Linked DNA regions of Homo sapiens: all the other regions are linked to region 5. Evidence: promoter capture Hi-C in 16 types of primary human blood cells and fetal thymus (Javierre and others, 2016). All regions are on one chromosome and are shown on one strand. Each heading gives the region's core, a stretch centred on a gene start or on the middle of the fragment in contact. The rest is flanking DNA. Distances are from core to core; before and after follow the strand shown.

Region 1 (4,249 bases), core at 1,045-3,544, 210 kb before region 5:
ACTGTGAGGTAGTACACAGAGGAATCTCACCCCATGCTCCACTACTTAGAATTAAATACATATTCCGCTGTAAGAAAGTAATCTAATTACGTAATAATTCCTATCCCCTTTTCTTCCCCGAGTAGTGATAGCCTGTAATTTGCGTACTTCCTTTCTGTCCCCTTCTAAAGCTTTTATTACATCATACATGTATCCATAAACTAAGTATAGAATTGTTTGGGGTGTGTTGCAAATACACATAAATCGTATCATATTAAATGTCAGTCTGCACTTTCTCCCACTCAGCATGGTTTTCCTGGTCTGGTCACGTTGATACATTTAGGTTTACTTCATTTTCACAGCTTATGTATTAGTCTAAAGTAAGCATAACTACCATGACTATTTATTTGTTCATTTTCCTCTGATGGATATTTAGTTGTTTCCAGTGTTGCGTATCACACCTATAATCAAGATGAAAGCAGCAGAAAATGCTAAGATGTTTTTTCTCCATGTAGGTAAGCAAACTATGGGCTTTCCACTTCTCACTTATCAAGACCGATCGGATAACAAACTGTATCGTCTTCAGACTCCTCAGAGTCCCTTGGTGAGACCCTCCATGTATGATTATTATGACATGGATAACTATCCAATTGGGACCAATGCCATCGTTGCTGTGATTTCTTACACTGGCTATGATATGGAAGATGCCATGGTAAGTTTTACCAGGAAATGTTGTTCCAATCTTTTTATTTTTTAACTTGTTTGTTTACTGTGAAATCACTGAAGGAATATTTTTGTGTACCCAAGTACCTAGTATTTGGCACGTGATGTTCTATTAAATGATTAGTTCTTAGTCTAAGTTGAAAGTGGGCAAGCCTTGAGGAATATCCACTAAATATTCAGATACACGTATGTCTTGCATATTTGAGTGCATATTATGAGTAAATTTTGAAGTTTGGTTTTGGATCTATCTACCTTTTATATTTAAGTATGATTAGATTTTAAGCTATTTCTGTGTGCCTGGGTTTTTGTTTTTCTTGTTTTTTGTTTGTTTGTTTTTTGTTTTTTATTTTTGAGACGGAGTCTCGCTCTGTTGCCCAGGCTGGAGTGCAGTGGCACGATCTTGGCTCACTGCAACCTCCACCTTCTGGGTTCAAGCAGTTCTCCTGCCTCAGCCTCTCGAATAGCTGGGACTACAGGCACCCATCACCATGCCTGGCTAATTTTCGTGTTTTTAGTAGAGATGGGGTTTCACCATGTTGGCCAGGCTGGTCTCGAACTCCTGACCTCAAGTGATCCACCTGCCTTGGCCTCCCAAAGTGCTGGAATTACAGGCGTGAGCCACCGTGCCCAGCCATGTCTGGGTTTTTGTAGTTAGTATCAGTGATTTGGAAAATGTGAGGAAAGTTAAAATGTGATGCCAGTTATCCTAAACCAAGTATGATAGTCCCACCTAGTTTTATTTTGAAAATCCTCAATTGGCCTCAGTCTTTTAACGATTCTTTTACTTCACAGATTGTGAATAAGGCCTCTTGGGAACGAGGCTTTGCCCATGGAAGTGTCTACAAGTCTGAGTTCATAGACCTCTCTGAAAAAATTAAACAAGGAGATAGTAGCCTGGTGTTTGGCATCAAACCTGGTGACCCACGCGTTCTGCAGAAGTTAGATGACGATGGATTGCCGTTTATAGGAGCAAAACTGCAGTACGGAGATCCGTATTACAGCTACCTCAACCTCAACACCGGGGAAAGTTTTGTGATGTACTATAAGTAAGTTTGGGTATCCAAGCTGTTTTGTTTTTGTTTTTGTTTTTGTTTTGAGACAGGGTCTCAGTGTGTCAGCCGGGCTGGAGTGCAGTGGAGTGATCTCAGCTCACTACAACCACCACCTCCCGGGCTCAAGCAATCCTCTCGCCTCAGCCTTTGAGTAGCTGGGACTCCAGGCATGGACCACCATGCCCAGCTAATTTTTTGTATTTTTAGTATAGACGGTTTCACCATGTTGCCCAGGTAGGTCTCGAACTCCTGGGCTCAAGTGATCCACCTGCTTCAGCCTCCCAAAGTGCTAGGATTACAGGCCTGAGCCACCATCCCTGGCCTATTTGTGCTTTTTTTAAAAACTGTATTATCCAAACTTTGTCATCTTTCTCACATACAATGTTAGCAATGTTTCCTAGCCAAAATGTTGAGCTCATACCTCTTATTAGAAATGTCTTATTTTAGCTTATTTTACAATATAATTTATTTCAATAGGCTTTCATAATAATTTTTCAGTTGCTTTTGTTGCTAGTTTTCTTTCAGATGAACATAATTCTGTAGTGAATATCACCAATAGCTCTATTCATACCATCTCTGTTTGTATTGGAGAATAAAGGTAAGAATGAGTTTTGCAGGCCAGGCACAGTAGTTCACACCTGCAATCCCAACACTTTGGGAGACCAAAACAGGAGGATTCCTTAAGCACAGGAGTTCATGATCAGTCTGGGCAATGTAGTGGGGCCCTATCTCTACAAAAAAAATTTAAAGACTAGCCAGGCCTAGTGGCATATACCTGTAGTCCCAGCTACTCAGGAGGCTGAGGTGGGAGGATTGCTTGAACCCGGAAAGTCAAGGCTGCAGTGAGCTGTAATTGCACCACCGCACTCCAGCCTGGGCAACAGAGTGAGACCCTGTATCATAAAAAAAAAAAAAAAAAAAAAAGTTTTACAAATATCCTTTATGAAGCACTAATTATATCAATGAAACTTATCTCCATAAGTTAAAACAAATAGGTTGACCTTATATGGTTTACTTTTTCCTAGGAGTAAAGAAAATTGTGTTGTGGATAACATCAAAGTGTGCAGTAATGACACTGGGAGTGGAAAATTCAAGTGTGTTTGCATCACTATGAGAGTGCCTCGGAACCCAACTATCGGAGATAAATTTGCCAGTCGCCATGGGCAGAAGGGCATTTTAAGCAGATTGTGGCCGGCTGAGGACATGCCTTTTACTGAGAGTGGGATGGTCCCAGACATTCTGTTCAATCCCCATGGTTTTCCATCCCGCATGACCATTGGGATGTTAATTGAGAGTATGGCCGGGAAGTCTGCAGCTTTGCATGGTCTCTGCCATGATGCTACACCCTTCATCTTCTCAGAGGAGAACTCGGCCTTAGAATACTTTGGTGAGATGTTAAAGGCTGCTGGCTACAATTTCTATGGCACCGAGAGGTTATATAGTGGCATCAGTGGGCTAGAACTGGAAGCAGACATCTTCATAGGAGTGGTTTATTATCAGCGCTTACGCCATATGGTCTCAGACAAATTTCAAGTAAGGACAACTGGAGCCCGAGACAGAGTCACCAACCAGCCTATTGGGGGAAGAAATGTCCAGGGTGGAATCCGTTTTGGGGAGATGGAACGGGATGCGCTTTTAGCTCATGGTACATCTTTTCTCCTTCATGACCGCCTCTTCAACTGCTCAGATCGGTCGGTAGCCCATGTGTGTGTGAAGTGTGGCAGTTTACTCTCTCCACTGTTGGAGAAGCCACCCCCTTCTTGGTCTGCCATGCGCAACAGAAAATACAACTGTACTCTGTGTAGTCGCAGTGACACTATCGATACTGTTTCTGTGCCTTATGTTTTTCGGTATTTTGTAGCTGAACTGGCAGCTATGAACATCAAAGTGAAACTGGATGTTGTTTAACTTGATGTTGACCTTTTGGATTAAGAGGACTATCAGATTAAAGCAAAATGTAATTTTAATTCAATGAAGATATCATTACCAGGTTACTCTTGAGATTTTTCAACGGTGTTAGAACTCTCAACCAAGACCTGAAAACCAAGTATGCAAGGTTTCTGAATCTCTCTGGTAGATTAACTATTGACAATGATTTTCTGTTATCTTTGTTCAAAAAGTTCATGTCTTCTCAAAATATGAAATATTGATAAATGGAAGAGCATACGGTGACAAGTCTCCTTTCCAACCCCAGGTTCCCTACACCCTGCTCTCAGCAGGCAGTGAGTGTCACACACCTGTTAATCCATCTTGAGCAGGACAGTACTATACAAATAGAATGCAAGCTGTAATGTAATTTTATATTTTCTTATAGCCACGTTGAAGTAAAAACAAACAGGTACAGTGTTTTTTACCAGCTTTATAGAAGTACAGTTGTTACATATTTAATGAATACAATTTGATGGGTCTGACTATATGCACACACCTTTGATACCATCACCACAATCAGGGTAATAAACATACCTGTCATCTCCACAAGTTTCCTCCTGCCCCTT
Region 2 (3,894 bases), core at 1,181-3,680, 150 kb before region 5:
GCTCCTCCTCCCAACTCCAGGCACCCTGACGCCACTTTGTCAGTGTGGTTTTCACATCCTGTCCTAGCGGTATGTTTGTCTTTTCGCCCCCAGATTCACAGCTTCCTAAGTGAAGGAGCCAAGTCTTGCTCTTTTCTTTACCCTAGAACAAGATACAGTTTCTGATCATACTTAATATTTGATGAACAGATGTTTTCCTTTAAACGTTTAAAGTTTAACTTTTAAAATCTCAGTAAGAAATACATCTGACATTACCACCCAGACTCATACACACATGTCACTGAATCAAAAGTTTCATGAAATAATACTTACTCTGTTGGATGCACTCTGATATTTTCTTTAATTTCATTTTTTAAAAAGTGCTTGTGGGGACTTGTAGGTGGAAAGCCATGGTCCTAAAGTGTACGGAGAAGCTGTCATTGCTAAAGTGAGAGAAGCTTTGCTTCCAAGCTAGGATCAGGTTAGGATTAAACTATAAACAGATGAGGGCTTCTGTTTGCTCTGATCTGCAGACTGAGAGAGTCTGGCCTCATTAAGAAACAGAAGCCAAGGCGGGGCTTACTGACGATGATGGACTTCAAGCTCCTAGGGCCTGCTCTTTGCAGCTTTCCTGTTCAGTACTTTATATCTTTCCTTCACTCCTTTAACATACCCATCCCTAACTCACAAAGATTCCCCAGACTCCACCTGGTACCCCAGCGATATTGTGTGCACAGCTCTACGATGGCTCTTGTCACACTGTACTGTAATGCAAATCTTTTTTAGGTGGCTAGCTCTTCAACTGAGCTGCTGGAGGGATCCCGGCCAGGGAAATGCTGGCCAAAAAGAGTGTGTGAATGGGAGGAGAGGAACTTTTGCATCTTGGGGTCTAGAGGTGCCCATCTCTTCCTTGTTGTTGCCTGGGCAGGGGGTCACCACTGGCTCTGGAGCCACAGCGGGGAAAGGCAGGCCAGGGTACACCGCGGTGGAGCAGAAGGGCAGGGAGCAGTGATGTAATTCAATTACAGAACTCGGTTATCCCTTCACTTTGTGTAGAAACGTCACCACTTAATAAATTTTTTTGTTTGTTTGTTTGAGACAGAGTCTCACTCTGTCACCCAGGCTGGAGTGCAGTGGCATGATCTCAGCTAGCTGCAGCCTCTGCCTCCCGGGTTCAAGCGATTCTCCTGCCTCAGCTGGAGAGTCCTACTCTCCTGAGTAGCTGGGACTACAGAGGTGCACCACCACACCCAGCTAATTTTTGTATTTTTAGTAGAGATGGGGTTTTACCATGTTGGCCAGGATGGTCTCGATTTTCTGACCTTGTGATTCGCCCACCTCGGCTTCCCAAAGTGCTGGGATTATAGGCATGAGCCATCGCGCCTGGCCACCACTTAAGAAATTAATAGTCCCAGCTACTTGGGAGGCTGACGCAGGAGAATCACTTGAATCTAGGAGGCGGAGGTTGCAGCGAGCCAAGATCACACCACTGCACTCCAGCCTGGGTGACAGAGCGAGACTCTGTCTCAAAAAAAAAAAAAAGTAAGAAATTAAGAAAATAGGCTGAAGGTGGTGGCAAGTGCCTGTAATCATAGCTGCTAGGGAGACTGAGGCATGAGAATTACTTGAACCCAGGAGGCAGGGGTTGCAGTAAGCCGAGATCACGCCATTGCAGTCCAGCTTGGGTGACAGAGCGAGGATCCAACTCAAAAAAATAAATAAATAAATAAGCCGGGCATGGTTGCACATGCCTGCAGTCCCAGCTGCTTGGGAGGCTGAGGCAGGAGAATCACTTGAACCTGGGAGGAGGAGGTTGTAGTGAGCAGAGATAGTGCCACTACACTCCAGCCTGGGCGACAGAGCAAGAGTGTCTCAAAAAAAAGAAGAAGAAGAAACAAAACCAAACCAAAGAAAATGCATGACTGTTCCTCTTAATTATTTACCTAGCTCTGTTTTGTTACATATTGTAGTTGTAACCCATGAGCAATAGATAAAATGTCACTAGATAGAATGTTTGTGGCCGGGCACAGTGGCTCACTCCTGTAATCCCAGCACTTTGGGAGGCCGAGGCAGGCGGATCACCTGAGGTCAGGAGTTCAAGACCAGCCTGGCCAACATGGTGAAACCCCTGTCTCTACTAAAAATACAAAAAATTAGCCGGGTGTGGTGGCACGCACCTATAATCCCAGCTACTCGGGGGGGCTGAGGCAGGAGAATCGCTTGAACCTGGAAGGTGGAGGCTGCAGTGAGCTGAGATCGTGCCATTGCACTCCAGCCTGGGCAACAAGAGTGAAACGCCATCTAAAAAAAAAAAAGGTAACAAAAAACTCTCCCTCAAATTCGTGTTGATACCTAATTCCCAATGTGATAACATTTGGAGGTGCGGCCTTTGGGAGGTGATGCAGTCATGAGGGTGGAGACCTCATGAATGGGATTAGTGCCCTTATAAAAGAGACCACCAGAGAGCTTCCTCTCCCCTTCCTTCATCTGAGGACACAGTGAGAAGCCAGCTGTCTATGAACCAGAAAGCAGGCCCTCATCACACATTGATTCTGCTGGCGTTTTGATCTTGGACTTCCCAGCCTCCCTGTGAGAAATGAATTTCTGTTGCTTACAGGCCACCTGGTCTATAGTCCTCTGTTACAGCAGCCTGAATGAACCAAGACACCCATGTACACATTTACAAACAAAACAAGTACGGCCTAGCCCACATTCTCAGGAGCTTACAATTTTCCTTTAAGTAAAGTTACGTGGGAAGACCCTGAACTGTGGAGCAAAAAGGGCCTGCGTTGAGACTAGCTCTCCTGCTTGTCGTGCTGTGGTCTTGAGAAGCACCTGAACTCTTTGACCCCTTTCTCCTCATCTGTGGAATTAGGGTAACTATGCCATTCCCCAGGCTTGCTACCAGGAGGAGAATGCGGGGACAGACTTGGGAGCAGCTCACATTCCTGAAGAAGTTAACGTTCTAAGGTATGGTGGTGACAAGCCGGACCGGGCAGAATACATTCTTCCCGTGGTGAAACAGAGGAAAATAAAGCTGGACAGACAGTGAAGGGCCCTGTCATGGAAAGCTCCAGCCAGACAGAGCGGTCTGGAGTTTGTTTTGCAGGCAGTGGTCATGGGGAAAGGCTTTGTGAAACTCACGGTTCAGCGGCTGAGTCTCACCGCCTGTGTAGCTTGGGTGGGGTGGAGTGAGACTGGAGGCTGGGAAGCACCTGAGAGGTGTCAAGGGCTGCCGTGTGGACTTAGCCTGGGGCAGTGGGAGGGGTAGGGGTGGAAGGCAGGCCACAGGAGTGAAAATAGGGCCCCGGTTTCCAGGGCGTCGTTCCCCCTGCATCTTGCTCTCTGCCTTTCTCCTCTTGTCCTTCTGTCTCCACCCCTATCCCCATCTCCCAAATGCTTCAGAGCATAAAGGTGCTGCCCAGCCAAAATCACCCGCACAAACTCCAGGTAAACTTGGTCTGGGCAGCTTTGAGTGGGTCATGAGTGGAGGAAGGGCAGGCCCACTCTTTCCTTAGTATATGAGTGAGAAAAGCGACCGCTGGTTAGATCTCACAGGAAACCAGAGCCTTGTGGCAGCACCTGACTTCAGGTGCAGCACAGCCCACGGAGTGAGAAGCTGACACCTCTGTGCCTGCTGAGGCAGGCTGCTCCTTCTACACCAGGCCAGGGAAATCAGGTCACCCACTCCAACAGTCTGCCGGACGCTGGGGACTGACTGCTGCCTCTGGGGCATCCACCACAAAGGATTCATGGACTCACTGACAGGGCCAGGCACCTGGCTAAGGATCTCAAACTGGTGCGGCCCACGGGTCCATTCAATCTATAGATGGGTTTTGTGCGGCCAACACCGTCCTTCTTGTCTACCTGTTGTATATGCATTCTGGCCTTGCCCCTGAGTTTATGAATTTACCA
Region 3 (4,450 bases), core at 246-2,745, 190 kb before region 5:
TGCCATATGTGCTTGAATCATAATCCTTGGTTCATGATGCACCGTCTTAGCTCAGGTTCCCCCAGAAACAGACCCTGGGACAGAGAATTAGAGGTTGATCCCAGTAAGCATTACTAGGGCAGTGGGAAGTGAGACAGGGACAGTCGTCTTGAGTACAATTTTCTATACTGTTTTAACAACTGTCAGAATAATTTTTTAATGGCCCTCCACATTTCTACTCTTCTTTCATCTTTACATGGACTCTGCAGGTTTCCTCCTAGCTCTCTGGCTATGCCACCACCTTCTCCCACCCAGCCGTGACATAATGATTTTCTTCAAGGCTTACACCAGGCCTCTTCTTATTCTCTCCTCTGTGCAGTGATCTCCTTCCTAGAGAATATCAGATAAGTCATTGGTTCACAGATGGTTATCTCCAGCCCTGGCTTCTGCCTTGGGCTTCCACCTGCTGCCATGGACCTTCATATAGATGTCTCAAAGGGAGCACTAAGTCCCAATGTGTCCGGAATTGCAGCAGGCATTATTTTCCCCAGCTTGTCATTCTCACCACCATTTCTTTGCACTCTGCCCCTGCAGAAGGTTTGGTATTGTTATTGTTGTTGCTGTTCTTTTTCTTAGAAGGCCTCACTCCATCTTAAGCCTGGATTTACAATTCCCCTTTTCATTTTTTTTTAATTTTTGTTTTATAGTTTGGGTATACAGTTCCCCTTTTGTTCATTTTATTTATTTGTTTGTTTATTTATTTATGAGATGGGGTCTCACTCTGTTGACCAGGCTGGAGTGCAGTGATGTGATCTCGGCTCACTGCCACCTCCACCTCCTGGGCTCAGATGATCCTCCCACCTCAGCCTCCTGAGTAGATGAGACTACAGGCACGCATGCCCAGCTAATTTTTGTCTTTTTAGTAGAGATGGGGTTTCACCATATTGTCCAGGCTGTTCTCTAACTCCTGAGCTCAAGAAATCTGCCTGCCTTGGCCTCCCAAAGTGCTGGGATTACAGGAGTGAACCACCATGCCCAGCCCCTTTTGTTTATTTTAAAGCTGAAATGAGGACTCAGTTAATTTTGTTGTAGTCTTGTCTGGTGAGGGGCGATTCTTCACCCTTGCTGCCGTCCCTCACACTCTTCCTATTTTCTAAATATGCAGTCAGTCATTTAGATCACATCACCTGTATGAATAAAAGCCTTTCATGTCGGCTGCATTCTTCAGGCTTCTAACTTCTTGCAATTCATCAGTTACGTCTAGTTACATCTGTGGATTCCTGCACCATTGCAGATGCAAAGCAGGAGAAAAGAAGGGTTTTCTTTTCATCTTTTTTTTTTTTTTTTTCTGAGACAGAATCACTCTATGGCCCAGGCTGGAGTGCAATGGCATGGTCTTGGCTCACTGCGAGGACCGTCTCCCGGGTTCAAGCATTACTCCTGCCTCAACCTCCTGAGTAGCTGGGATTATAGACATGCACCGCCACACCCAGCTAATTTTTTTGTATTTTTAGTAGAGATGGGGTTTCAATATGTTGGCCAGGCTGGTCTAGAACTCCTAACCTCAAGTGATCTGCCCTCGTCTGCCTCCCAAAGTGCTGGGATTCCAGGCGTGAGCCACCACACCCTGCCTTCATTTTTGTTTTGAAGGAATTACCTCCTACCCCTTAAGTCCTGCAGTCCCTGAACTTGACCTTATCTGCAGCAAAGATGAGAAAGGGGGAAGGTATGATAAAAGGAGAAAACACTTGCCAATGTTTTCTAAATTAACCCCTGACATTAAAATTTAACATTTTCTGCACTTCCTGATCACAGTCCTGTCTTTTACTCAGTTGTGGGCGTGCACTTTTTTTTTTTTTTGAGGTGGAGTCTCATTCTGTTGCCCAGGCTGGAGTGCAGTGGCGCAATCTCAGCTCACTGCAACCTCCACCTCCCGAGTTCAAGCGATTCTCCTGCCTCAGCCTCCTGAGTAGCTAGGACCACAGGCACGCGCCACCACGCCCAGCTAATTTTTGTATTTTTAGTACAGATGGGGTTTCACCATGTTGGCCAGGATGGTCTCAATCTCCTGACCTCGTGATCCACCTGCCTCAGCCTCCCAAAATGTTGGGATTACAGGCGTGAGCCACCGCGCCCAGCCTGGGCATGCATATTTTATGGATCTTAACTCGACTTTTAAATTTTCTTTGAGCATCTGGGAATTTTATGAAAGCACTTTGTTAGTTTCTATTAGTGTCCCCTATATCCAAAATTCTCATTAAAGAATGCCGTTTCCCATCTCTCAAGAATTTATCAATTCAGGCTGGGCATGGTGGCTTACGTCTGCAATCCCAGCACTTTGGGAGGCCAAGGTAGGCTGATTGTTTAAGGTCAGGAGTTCAAGACCAGCTTGGCCAACATGGTGAAACCCCGTCTGTACTAAAAAAACAAAAATTAGCTGGGCATGGTGGCAGGTGCCTGTAATCCCGGCTATGCGGGAGGCTGAGGTAGCAGGATTGCTTGAGCCCAGGAGGCAGAGGTTGCAGTGAGCCGGGATCACGACGCCACTGCACTCCAGCGTGGGCGACAGAGTGAGAGTCTTTTTTTTTTTTTTGAGACTCACACTGTGCACAGGAAGAAAATTATGTGAATGTCCTTCCTAACAGGGAGAGGCCTTCCCTGACCTTGCTCCCCTTGGGCTGCCATCAGCATGGGGCTTTCTTAGGTATCAAGGCCACCTCAGTTTGGAGAGATGCCAGAAGTGGAAGTGTCAGCCAGACCATGTTTTCATTCTACTTGTCTATATTAGATCAAAGTCAGAGAGAGAATCTCAGTTCATAGAGGGAACACTTTATAACCTGTGTTTATGGAGGAGAATCACATACCAAGTGGAATCACCTTGAAGCAAGGCTTGTGTGCCGGGGGCGATGGCTCGTGCCTGTAATCCCAGCACTTTGGGAGGCTGAGGCAAATGGATCACTTGAGGTCAGGAGTTTGAGACCAGCCTGGCCAACATGGTGAAACCCTATCTCTACTAAAAAATACAAAAATTAGCTGGGCATGGTGGTACATGCGTATAATCCCAGCTACTCGGGAGGCTGAGGCAGGAGAATCGCTTGAACCCAGGAGGCAGAGGTTGCATTGAGCCAAGATCATGCCACTGTACTCCAGCCTGGGCTACAGAACGAGACTCCATCTCATAAATAAATAAATAAATAAATAAATAAATAAATAAATGGGATTTCGAGACCAGGCTGTCCAACATGATGACCATGTTTGTATTAACTTAGCTGGGCGTCGTGGCACATGCCTGTGATCCCAGCTACTTGGGAGGCCGAGGCAGGAGAATCACTTGAACCCGGGAGGCAGAGGTTGCAGTGAGCCGAGATCATGCCATTGTACTCTAGCCTGGGTGACAAGAGCGAAACTCTGTCTCAAAAATAATTAAAAAAAAAAAAAGTGGAACCGTTTAGTAGATAATAATCACATAAAGAGTTATCAACTCTTTCCCTGTGTCAATGTTAAACATTCCCACCTCCACCTTCATCACATACTCTGTTGGAGAAGGGTACTTCTCTGACCCATAGCCAGGGCTGGCTGGTGAGACTTGTGTTAGCCAATGAGAGGTGAAAAGATGTGACATATGCCACATCTGGGCGGAAGTTTTAAATGGCATGCATCTTGTAGCTTTGCATTTTGTGTTTCATCTCTACGTTGTGGGAATGGCCTTAGAGGATGATGCTCATTCAGTCCGGGACCAGGAATGAGAATAGAAACTGAGCAGAGCTACAGGTCAACCTCAGTCCTCATTTAAATGATCAAGAACTACATGCTTCTTGTTGTAAGCCACTGAGATACTGTGGTTATTTGTTACAGCAGCAAAACCTCAGTGATACAATAGGAACAGGCAACTCACAAAAGAGGAAAGGAAAAATATGCAGTCTCTCTAACCATTAGAGAAGTGTAGATTCCAGTGAGATTTTTGGTCCTTCAGATTGGCAAAAACTAAAAAGTCTGATAATATCTAATGTTGACAAGAAAATGTAGAACTAGGCTGGGTGCAGTGGCTCATGCCTGTAATCCCATCATGTTGGGAGGCTGAGGTGGGTGGATCGCTTGAAGCCAGGAGTTTGAGACCAGCCTGACCGACATGGAGAAATCCTGTCTCTACTAACAGTACAAAAATTAGTCGGATGTGGTGGTGCATGCCTGTAATCCCAGCTACTCAGGAGGCTGAGGCACAAGAATTGCTGGAACTCAGGAGGTGGAGCTGAGATCATACCACTGCACTCCAGCCTGGGTGACACAGCAAGACTCTCTCTCAAGAAAAAAAAAAAGAAAGAAAAAGAAAAAGAAAATGTAGGCCAGGCGCAGTGGCTCACACCTATAATCCCAGCACTTTGGGAGGCCGAGGCCGGCGTATCACCTGAGGTCAGAAGTTCGAGACCAGCCTGACCAACATGGAGAAACCCCGTCTCTACTAAAAATACAA
Region 4 (4,344 bases), core at 1,655-4,154, 150 kb after region 5:
GTCATGGAGTCATCATGGAAGGGGGGCGGGGAACTCCCTGGTGTTGCCATGATGACGGTAAACTGATATGGCGAACTGGTGGGTATGTCACATGAAAAGCTCCTTCCACCCCAGCCCTGTTTCAATTAGTCCTCGGTTTGGTCCAGTGTCCAAGTCCTGCCTCCAGAGTCAAGTCCCACCCCCTACCTCTTAAGGAGAGATGTAAATACATGGAATAGAATTGAGAGTCCAGAAATAATCTCATACATCTATGATCAATTGATTTTCAGCAAAGGTGCCAAGACCATTCAATGAGGGAAAGAATCATATTTTCAACAAATGGTGCTGGATAACCACATGTGAAAGAATGCAACTGGGCCCTTATCTCACACCATATACAGAAATTAACTCAAAATGGCTCAAACACTTACATGTAAGAGCTAAAACTATAATATTCTTAGAAGAAAACAGGGATATATCTTTATGACCTTGGATTTGCTGGCTGATTCTTAGATGACACTGAAAGCACAAGCAACAAAAGAAAAAAAAATAGGTAAATTGGACCTCATCAAAATTTAAAACTTTTAGGCTGGGTGCACACCTGTAATCCCAGCACTTTGGGAGGCTGAGGCAGGAGGATCTCTTGAGCCCAAGAAGCTGAGGCTACAGTGAGCCGAAATTGTGCCACTGCACTCCAGCCTGGGTGACAGAGCAAGACCCTGTCTCGAATAAATAAATAAACAAATATATAATTATAGATCTCTGGATCTTGCCTTCGGAGACTGACTCAACTAACTGGTCTGGGTGGGAGCCCAGCCATTTGTATTTTTTGAAAACTCTCCAAATGATTTTACTGTGCAGCCAAGGTTGAGAATCACTGTATCATAGGGTTGGACTCCTAACTGGAAACAGTTTGCACCATCAGGTGTCGCAGCATTCTGATAATAGTTAAGCTTTCCTCCTAGATTTTCTGATATTAGATGAGTCATGTTTACAAGTTTTTACCAAGAGACAAACTATCTTTCTGCCCTTACTTTCTCTCTTATACTATTCTAATCCCAGAACCCTTTGGAACTTCCACTGAGAGATGAATCTAGAAAGTGACTCTCTTGGCTACAACAGAGAGTAATGTTGGCCTGTTTGTGCCAGATCCAGTTGGTGCTGGTGGTGGGACAGCACCTCCCTGAAATCCCCTCCTCTCCCGTCAGATTCAGTCCCCCATTTGCATCACGTACAATCATCACTATGGGTTTCTATTACCTTGCTAGGGCATTTGGAGGTACCATATATACCAACTATTAGTTTTGAGCCATGGTTCCCAAAGTGTGGACTGTAGGGCACCTCAGCACACTCACGAGGTGTCATGGGATATTTAAATATTCTGAAGAAAACACAGTGACATCTGTCAGGCCCGTGAAAACCGTTGGCATTAAATTGTCTCAACCCAATTGCTTAAGAAGCAGAACTGGCCAGGCACGGTGGCTCACATCTGTAATCCCAGCACTTTGGGAGGCCGAGGCGGGCAGATCACGAGGTCAGGAGTTCGAGACCAGCCTGACCAACATAGTGAAACCCCGTCTCTACTAAAAATATAAAAATTAGCCATGCATGGTGGCATGCACCTGTAACCCCAGCTACTCAGGAGGCTGAGGCAGGAGAATTGCTTGAACCTGGGAAGCGGAGGTTGTAGTGAGCCAAAATCGTGCCACTGCACTCCAGCTTGGGTGATAGTGAGACTACATCTCAAAAAAAAAAAAATGAGAGAGAGAGAGAGAAGCAGAACCATCAGGTGTTTCTTTTGGCTTAAAGTACTCGGTGAAGAAATTCCTGGGACACGAAGGATACCATGAACTGAGAGATTTTGGGAACCTCTGCTTTAGAAGCTGGAGGTAGCATTCCTTGGGCACAGTACTGCCTTGGGATCAGCAAATCCTTTTGATGGTGCATTTAGGTGTGGCAAGACAGCTCTTAGAGTGGGACCGGGATGTGCTTGGAGACAGAGGGAACTAGATTGAGCTGCCCGATAAAGACATGCCAGCCTGGCAGAGTGTAGTGACTCATGTCTGTAATCCTAGTGCTTTGGGAGGCTGAAGTGGGAGGATTGCTTGAGGCCAGGGGTTTGAGATCAGCCTGGGAAACAACAAGACCTCTACAAAAAAAAAAAGAAAAAAAAAAATTAACCACATGTGGTGGCATGCACCTGTAGTCCCAGCTACCTGGCAGGCTGAGGTAGGAGGATCACTTGAGCCCAGGAAGGTAAGGATACATTGAGCCATGACTGTGCCACTGCACTCTAGCCTGGGTGACAGAAAGAGACTCTGTCTCAGAAATAAATTAAATAACTAAATAAATATATAGTGGCCATGACATCCCTAGAAAGACAAGGTCCTGGGAATAGGTAGAAGCCAAGGGAAATGAGAAATGAGAGGGGGCCCTGGAGCTGGAACTGGGGGAGCAGGATGGCCTCTGAGAAGTTCCTGATAGTGGTGTCACTGATGTGTCTGATGTTTAGTTGTAATTATTTGCTGGGCCCCTGTCATCCCTCATATCTGATAGCTCTTTGCTAGTCAAAGTGTGGTCTGGGGATCAGCGGCATCAGCATCACTTGAGAACTTGTTAGAGATGCAGAATCTAGAGCCCTACCCGGGACCCAGAAACAGAGCCTGCATTTTAACAAGCTCCCCAGGTGATTCTCACACACACTCGCATTTGAGAAGCACTGGGCTAGTTGACAGATTCTCAGGCATGGCTGACATTGAAATATCCAGGGAGCAGGCTTGGCATTAGGATGTTTAAAAGTCCTCCAGGTGTTTCTAAAGCCAGGTTTGAGGAATTACTGGGCTGATACAAATGTTTTGTGATGATGCTTTGTGTGTGTGTGTGTGTGTGTGTGTGTGTGTGTGTGTTGGGAGTTCTGGGTCAGTTGGCACCAACACAGGAAACAATTGAAATATGTGAGCCATGACAGAAAGGTCAGGAGATAAAAGAAATTAGTGACATGAGAGGTACTCCTCAGGTGTTAGGAAATAGGGTAGAGCAAACCAGGTTTTCCACCATATGTTGGATAGGGGTTCAAGTAAATTTCTACTTAAAAATTACAAACAGGGGCTGGGCGCGGTGGCTCATGCCTGTAATCCCACACTTTGGGAGGCTGAGGAGGGCGGATCACAAGGTCAAGAGATTGAGACCATCCTGGCCAACACGGTGAAACCGTGTCTCCACTAAAAATACAAAAATTAGCTGGGCATGGTGGTGCGTGCCTTTATTCCCAGCTACTCGGGAGGCTGAGGCAGGAGAATCGCTTGAACCTGGGAGGTGGAGGTTGCAGTGGGCCGAGATCGCACCACTGCAATCCAGAGCGAGACTGTGTCAAAAAAAAAAAAAAAAGAAAATTCCAAACAGGATGACCCTAAGCCTGCAGGACTTGGAGACATCTAGGTGACTGATACTCAGTCACAAAACATAATTGGTCACAGGCCTGATGAAATGCACAGCAGACCTTCAGATGGTATGCACTCAAGTGATATCCACAAGTCCACCTAAAGAAATGCTATATTCAAACATTTGGCATCAATCTCTATCAAACAAAGATAGTCCAAAGCAATGGGTTCCAAAAACACTTTCCTAAGACAAATTCTCTATTTGCTTTTAATATCAGTCATCCCAGCCCTTGGAATAGAGGAGCAAATGATACCAGTGGTACCCTACCACAATGCACCAAGGTATTATACTCTCATGCTCCATTTTCTCCCTCTGTCTACATCACTAATAACTCATTGATTTCTGGTGCAAGCCCTCCTGGGAGAAAAAGTCTACTCTTGTACCTTGGAGCAAGTTGTTCAGAGTAGGTATCGAGGATAAAATTTGGAAAGTTAGAAAAGCTATTAGAAGGAGATCCTAGTAGTTGAAAACACAGCCTGGCCAAGTCAATGATGCTATTTCATCTCCCCAGCCTTGCATGTCCATAGCTAAGGAAGACAATTTAGGCTTGGGCTAGAGGATGGGAAAGGGCAAAATTACTGATGCCACAGCCCAGAGAGGTATTCTAGTAATCTGAGGGTGAGGACCACATACCTGGTTCAGGGACGTACAGTGTTGACAGCTGTGAGTGGATGCCTGGAGTTCTGGCATGTCTTCTAGCACAATGATACCTGAGACTCTTGCATCATTGGGAATAATAAAATGGGAGTGGATAGATATGAAATTATGATGGCAATAAGCAATCAGCTAATAGCTTCATTGATGGGACAGATTAAAGATGGCTGCAGATCCTTTGGTCCAGGGTTGGGATACAGGCAGCATTTGTATTGGAATGCTGATAGTCTGAGGCCATGAAAAGTCCACCTGCAGTAGTGGTAGGAGGAA
Region 5 (4,482 bases), core at 119-2,618:
TACACATTACTTTCATGTATTCACTAAAACAGATTTCATAATTTATACTTAGTAAAATATCCAGGCAAAATTTTGACAGCCTAGTTTGTGTTAGTATTTACTACAGATAATGGAAACATCATGTTAGTTTAATATGTTCCGTAATTTTATCTTTGTGTTCATTTACCTTTCTTCTACATCTGAGTGAGATTTGCCTGCATATGTGAGTTCACATGCCCAGCTTGCTGTGGAGCCATTTCCTGTTCCTGAATGAGATCAAGTTTTCCTGAGAATGGACCAGTAAAACCCATTCTTATATCAGGGCATGTGATCTCAACAGAGGCTGTGTCTAAGTTGATGCTGATATTCATGTAGGGCTCAGCAGACCTCAAAAATAATTTTTCTAAAATGGCGGTCTCCCTGCCAATGTAATCTCAGTTTAACATGCTGAATGCTTAGTTTTTCTGGGTCTTCTCTGAACCTGCTCTGACTTCAGGACTAGTACACATCTCTACAACCTCTGCCGGCCTGCCCCCATGCTGGCCACTGTTATGCCTAGCTGGATTCTGGTGAGCCTTGAAACCCTCATTAAATCACAAGAGATAAATCTTATTCCTTACCTGTAACAGTTCTTCAGGTCTTCAAACATGTCTGGAACTTTGGCCATCTTGACTTCTGCAACAGAGAACACCAGCCACCATCAGCTCAGCCAGCCTCTAATCCAGATATCTGTGAGGGGAGCCCCTCCTCTTTGTGCTTCCTGAAAACTTTGTTGAATGACTTAGTCCACATTCAGCATTTTCTCCATCTTCTAGCTCCTTTGAATTAGTTTGCTATGTACCTGTCTCCTTTATTAGATCGTAAACTTCTTTTAGAATGTTTTATTTATGTTGGTATTCCTTATGTGCCCAACCTAATGTATTGCCAGAACAGGCATTCAATCAATGAAAGTTTGAAGAGGTTACAAAAACACCACAAGAATAAGGTATTTGCCTTACACAGAGGTAAGAGAGAGACAGAGTTGGAAATTTTCAATTTTCTCCTAATAATTTTGGATAGTAGAGATTCCCTCCCATGAGAAGCCTCAGTTGTATTCACCCATGCCCTCATAGGAAACTAGTTCTGCTGTCCCTCAGTATAACGAATCAGTCCTTATCAGCAAAATGAGAGAATCATTTTCTGAAATCTGACTGTAATTCTAGGTCACATACCAAACCAGGGAGGGACAAGAAAAGAAAGGAGAGGCTGTAGCTTTAGAGAAGGCAATGTGAGAGAAAACAGCCAAAGAGAAAAACAACAACAGAAAATACTTTAATAGCCAGAGATGTGAGGACAATACCTTTGCTGACTCAAACGCCAATGAAATGACTCCCTCTCTGGCTGGCAGCTTAAGCCTGAGTCAGTCTTCTTCGCCTTTTGTAATTGTCTTAAGTAGGCGTGGCTACGTGGCTACAAGTGCGTCGTCAAAACGGGGAATTTACAGGGAAGAATTCAGTTTTGTATTTTTCTATGTTCATTCAACTCGATACTGGCTAAAATAGTGAAAGATGGCATAGCTGATATTATTGTTGTTTGCAGATATTCCAGAAGTTATTGATTTGGTTCATTTATTCACCCCTTTGCTTTATAAGATGACAAACATGTAGTCTTAGAAAAAGGGAAGCGCGGGAAACTTATCAAGTTTCTAGGAGGAAGGGAGAAATCGTGAAATCCGAAGTCAAGGGGCTAGATTTGGAGAGGAATTTATTAATAATAATAGTTCTAATAGTAGCTGTAGTTGTGTTCTGGCTGAATTTGTTGATTGTGCTCCAGGGTGAATTGGCAGAATACTTGGCAGCTCCTGGCAACTTTTGAGGGAAAATGAGCCATCTTTTCTGAAGAGGGAAGTTTGCTTGATTAAGGCATAAATCACCTCAGAGTTTGGGGTGACAAGCTCCTGGTTAGGGCAGGGTAGAGAAGAGAACAGTGGTATTTGAGCACAAAGAAGTCTTGATCCTCTTACTCTTCTGAATATTGTCAACACATTTCCTATAGAGGGGATGGAGCTTCAGGAGAGAACTCTCCACCCTGGCCCTGTTACAGTAAAGTAGCCCTCTACCAAGGACCAGAGAGAAGCCTGGTCTTCTGTAGGATATGCCCAAGGTGTGTCTTCTGTAGAAGAAGGTGTGTGCAAGCCCCGGGAGGTATGCGTAAGGCCTCAGCCAGAAGCCAGTGGCTAAGTTTGGGAATGGAGATTGGGAGAAAGGAAGGCATGGATTTTTACATATGAGCCTTCAATGGTGTTGCCTGGTTACTATTATTAAAGAATTTCTCAGCTTTTATAATTCCTGTGGCCAGCCTAGTTCAGGTGGTAGAACACCAGACTCTTAGCAAATGAATGTTTTGGGTTCCCAGTTGGAGTTTAAGCCATGTATATTTTAAATAGAGGAAATGAACTAGGTGTGATGGCATGCCCCTGTAGTCCCAGCTATTCAGGAGGCTGAGGCAGGACAATCACTTGAGGCCCAGAGTTTTAGTCCAGTGTGGGCAACATAGTGAAGCCCCCATCTCTAAAAAATAATAAACGCAAAAAAGCATGGATCTGGGAGGAAAGCAGCTTGTGTGAGTTGGATAAAGTATTCCCTCTGTTCCTGTTTAATTGTAAATAATGGGGTTGGTTAGGTGTCATAAGGTCTATTGCAGGTGCAAAATCTCTTATTCTGATTTAATGCCAGTCTAATTCTCCTGGTCATAGACCTGGTGCTATAATAGTTATAACAGGAGCCACAGAAATAACCACACTTGGATGTAAGCAATGTAAGTGTAGCACCAGACTAGGGTAGAAGCTTGGGTGTCTAAGGATGAATCCTGAAGCAACAGTGATGCCAGCCAACTGGCTACATTTCTGCTTACCTTGGTTCCTCTTTAGGCAACACAGAAATGTTAATCCTGATTAACCCTCTCCTCCTGAGAATCTTGTGAGGGCTATTGCTAAGGAACAATTGCAAAGCACATTGTGAATGTGAGCTGCTATGGAGATGCAACTAAACAAAAATAATGACAATGCTAATGATGGCTTCAGTCACTCAAGAACCTGTATAGTCATCATTATAATGCCTCAGTTCACCAAAGAAAATATAGTTCTTATGAAAATACTGGCTTGAAAGCTTCAACAGGGATAACATTTTCAGGTGAAGGCCACCATTGAAAGCCTGAAGATATTTAGCTTCTGGGAGCAATGCATACCATCTCTTTGGTAATCCAGGAAAAAAACCCTGGTTCCACCAACATAGGCAATACCTATCCTGGTCCCATCCTCACTCCTCTGTTGTAAATAATTCCCCAAAGGTGGTTGTTGAATTTTTCAAAGAGAACTTGGTTGAGAAACAGCTAACTTGGGTTAGAATATCACCCAACCTTTTCCTTCACATGATCTTCTTGTAAATTGATTTTTAAAGGAAAACTAGGGTGGGTGAGGTTCAGAGAGAGGTGGGTCCTTGCATTGTTTTGGGGAGCCCGCTTTTCTGGGACTGTGAACAACAGTCACCTCTTCTAGGGAAGGGACAGTGGAACGTACTGGGCAGGGCTCTACTGGGTAGATAGTGGAACATACTGGGCAGGCCTGTGGTGTGTGCGTTGGGAGCCATCCTGTGACAGGGACTTTGGGTGGCTTCAGGCACCCACCTCTCGACTCTGAGGAGGCCTCAGGAAACCCTTAATGAGTCACTGTCATCTAAATCATTTAGGAAAAAAAAATTATTGTGCACTTATCCTATGCCATGGGTTTTGCTAGGAATCAGCAGTTTTTCCCCATGATCCACAAAATCAGATATGCAAGGTGAGATGATCTATGTTGGTGGGTGACTGGATATGTTTTATAAGATTGGAGCTTGTGGGTCCAAAGAATCACTGTGATGCGTTTCATGTGACAATTGTTTTATAGTTTACCTGCACTATCTCACTGCCTCCTCACTGCACCTACAAGAATTAGCTGATACTATCCTCTTTCACAGCTGAGGACCCTTGAAGAGGTTAAGTGACCAACCCAAGATCACAAGACTGATGAAACCAGTGCTTGAACTCAAGCTTCTGATTCCGAGTCCAATCTTCTCTTTCCACTGCATAAAGATACTCGAGTCTCTTATCACCACCAACACCAAGTGATGGCTTATAAAGATCATCCTTAGGGTCTTTCCCCCTCAAACGTGCTATCATTCAGTAACTCTAGGATCCTTGTTAAAAAAAAAAAAAAAACGGGGGTTGCGGAGAAGGGATTGAAATATCTCCTCTCCCTGTCTTCACCTCCTCTGATGAAATCTGATTTTATTCTGTGATATGTAAGACCTGAATGAAGGTGACTGAAGTAATTGGGTACATGGTTAGTGGTGGAATCCGGATGTGAACCTGAGTCATGGTCTTGCCATTGTTCCTTGAAGACAGGAAATATTTGTAAATATATTTGGAAGCAACTTTAAAATTGTTGCATGTGGTTGGGTCTAACAGAATCACTTGAATGAAGAGAAA

The links. The method cuts DNA at HindIII sites, captures the fragments that hold promoters and counts their contacts. A CHiCAGO score of 5 or more calls a contact.
Region 1: a contact is called between a fragment that was not itself captured here and the fragment with the promoter of IL1A in region 5, in 1 of 17 cell types (neutrophils). The highest score is 6.1, in neutrophils.
Region 2: a contact is called between a fragment that was not itself captured here and the fragment with the promoter of IL1A in region 5, in 1 of 17 cell types (monocytes). The highest score is 5.0, in monocytes.
Region 3: a fragment that was not itself captured here is called in contact with the fragment with the promoter of IL1A in region 5 in 2 of 17 cell types (neutrophils and monocytes); the score reaches 10.4 in neutrophils.
Region 4: a contact is called between a fragment that was not itself captured here and the fragment with the promoter of IL1A in region 5, in 10 of 17 cell types (megakaryocytes, endothelial precursors, M0 macrophages and 7 more). The highest score is 11.9, in megakaryocytes.

Annotation. Positions count from the first base shown.
Region 1 is chr2:112,572,068-112,576,316 of GRCh38, forward strand. POLR1B (RNA polymerase I subunit B) reads left to right here. Exons shown (of 15, transcript NM_019014.6): 13 at 495-691; 14 at 1,495-1,748; 15 at 2,780-4,249. The coding sequence ends at 3,662. Among named protein-coding and RNA genes, the nearest start is that of CHCHD5, 10 kb to the right of the region's middle. The HindIII fragment of the contact is 4,253 bases long and covers 169-4,249 here.
Region 2 is chr2:112,631,249-112,635,142 of GRCh38, forward strand. LOC107985934 (a long non-coding RNA gene) reads left to right here and starts at 2,046. Exons shown (of 2, transcript XR_001739642.2): 1 at 2,046-3,894. The HindIII fragment of the contact is 3,990 bases long and covers 436-3,894 here.
Region 3 is chr2:112,593,896-112,598,345 of GRCh38, forward strand. No RefSeq gene overlaps it. Among named protein-coding and RNA genes, the nearest start is that of CHCHD5, 12 kb to the left of the region's middle. The HindIII fragment of the contact is 7,050 bases long and covers 1-4,450 here.
Region 4 is chr2:112,927,046-112,931,389 of GRCh38, forward strand. No RefSeq gene overlaps it. Among named protein-coding and RNA genes, the nearest start is that of IL37, 18 kb to the left of the region's middle. The HindIII fragment of the contact is 3,948 bases long and covers 931-4,344 here.
Region 5 is chr2:112,783,125-112,787,606 of GRCh38, forward strand. IL1A (interleukin 1 alpha) reads right to left here and starts at 1,369. Exons shown (of 7, transcript NM_000575.5): 1 at 1,319-1,369; 2 at 600-654. The coding sequence starts at 646. The HindIII fragment of the contact is 4,198 bases long and covers 1-2,802 here.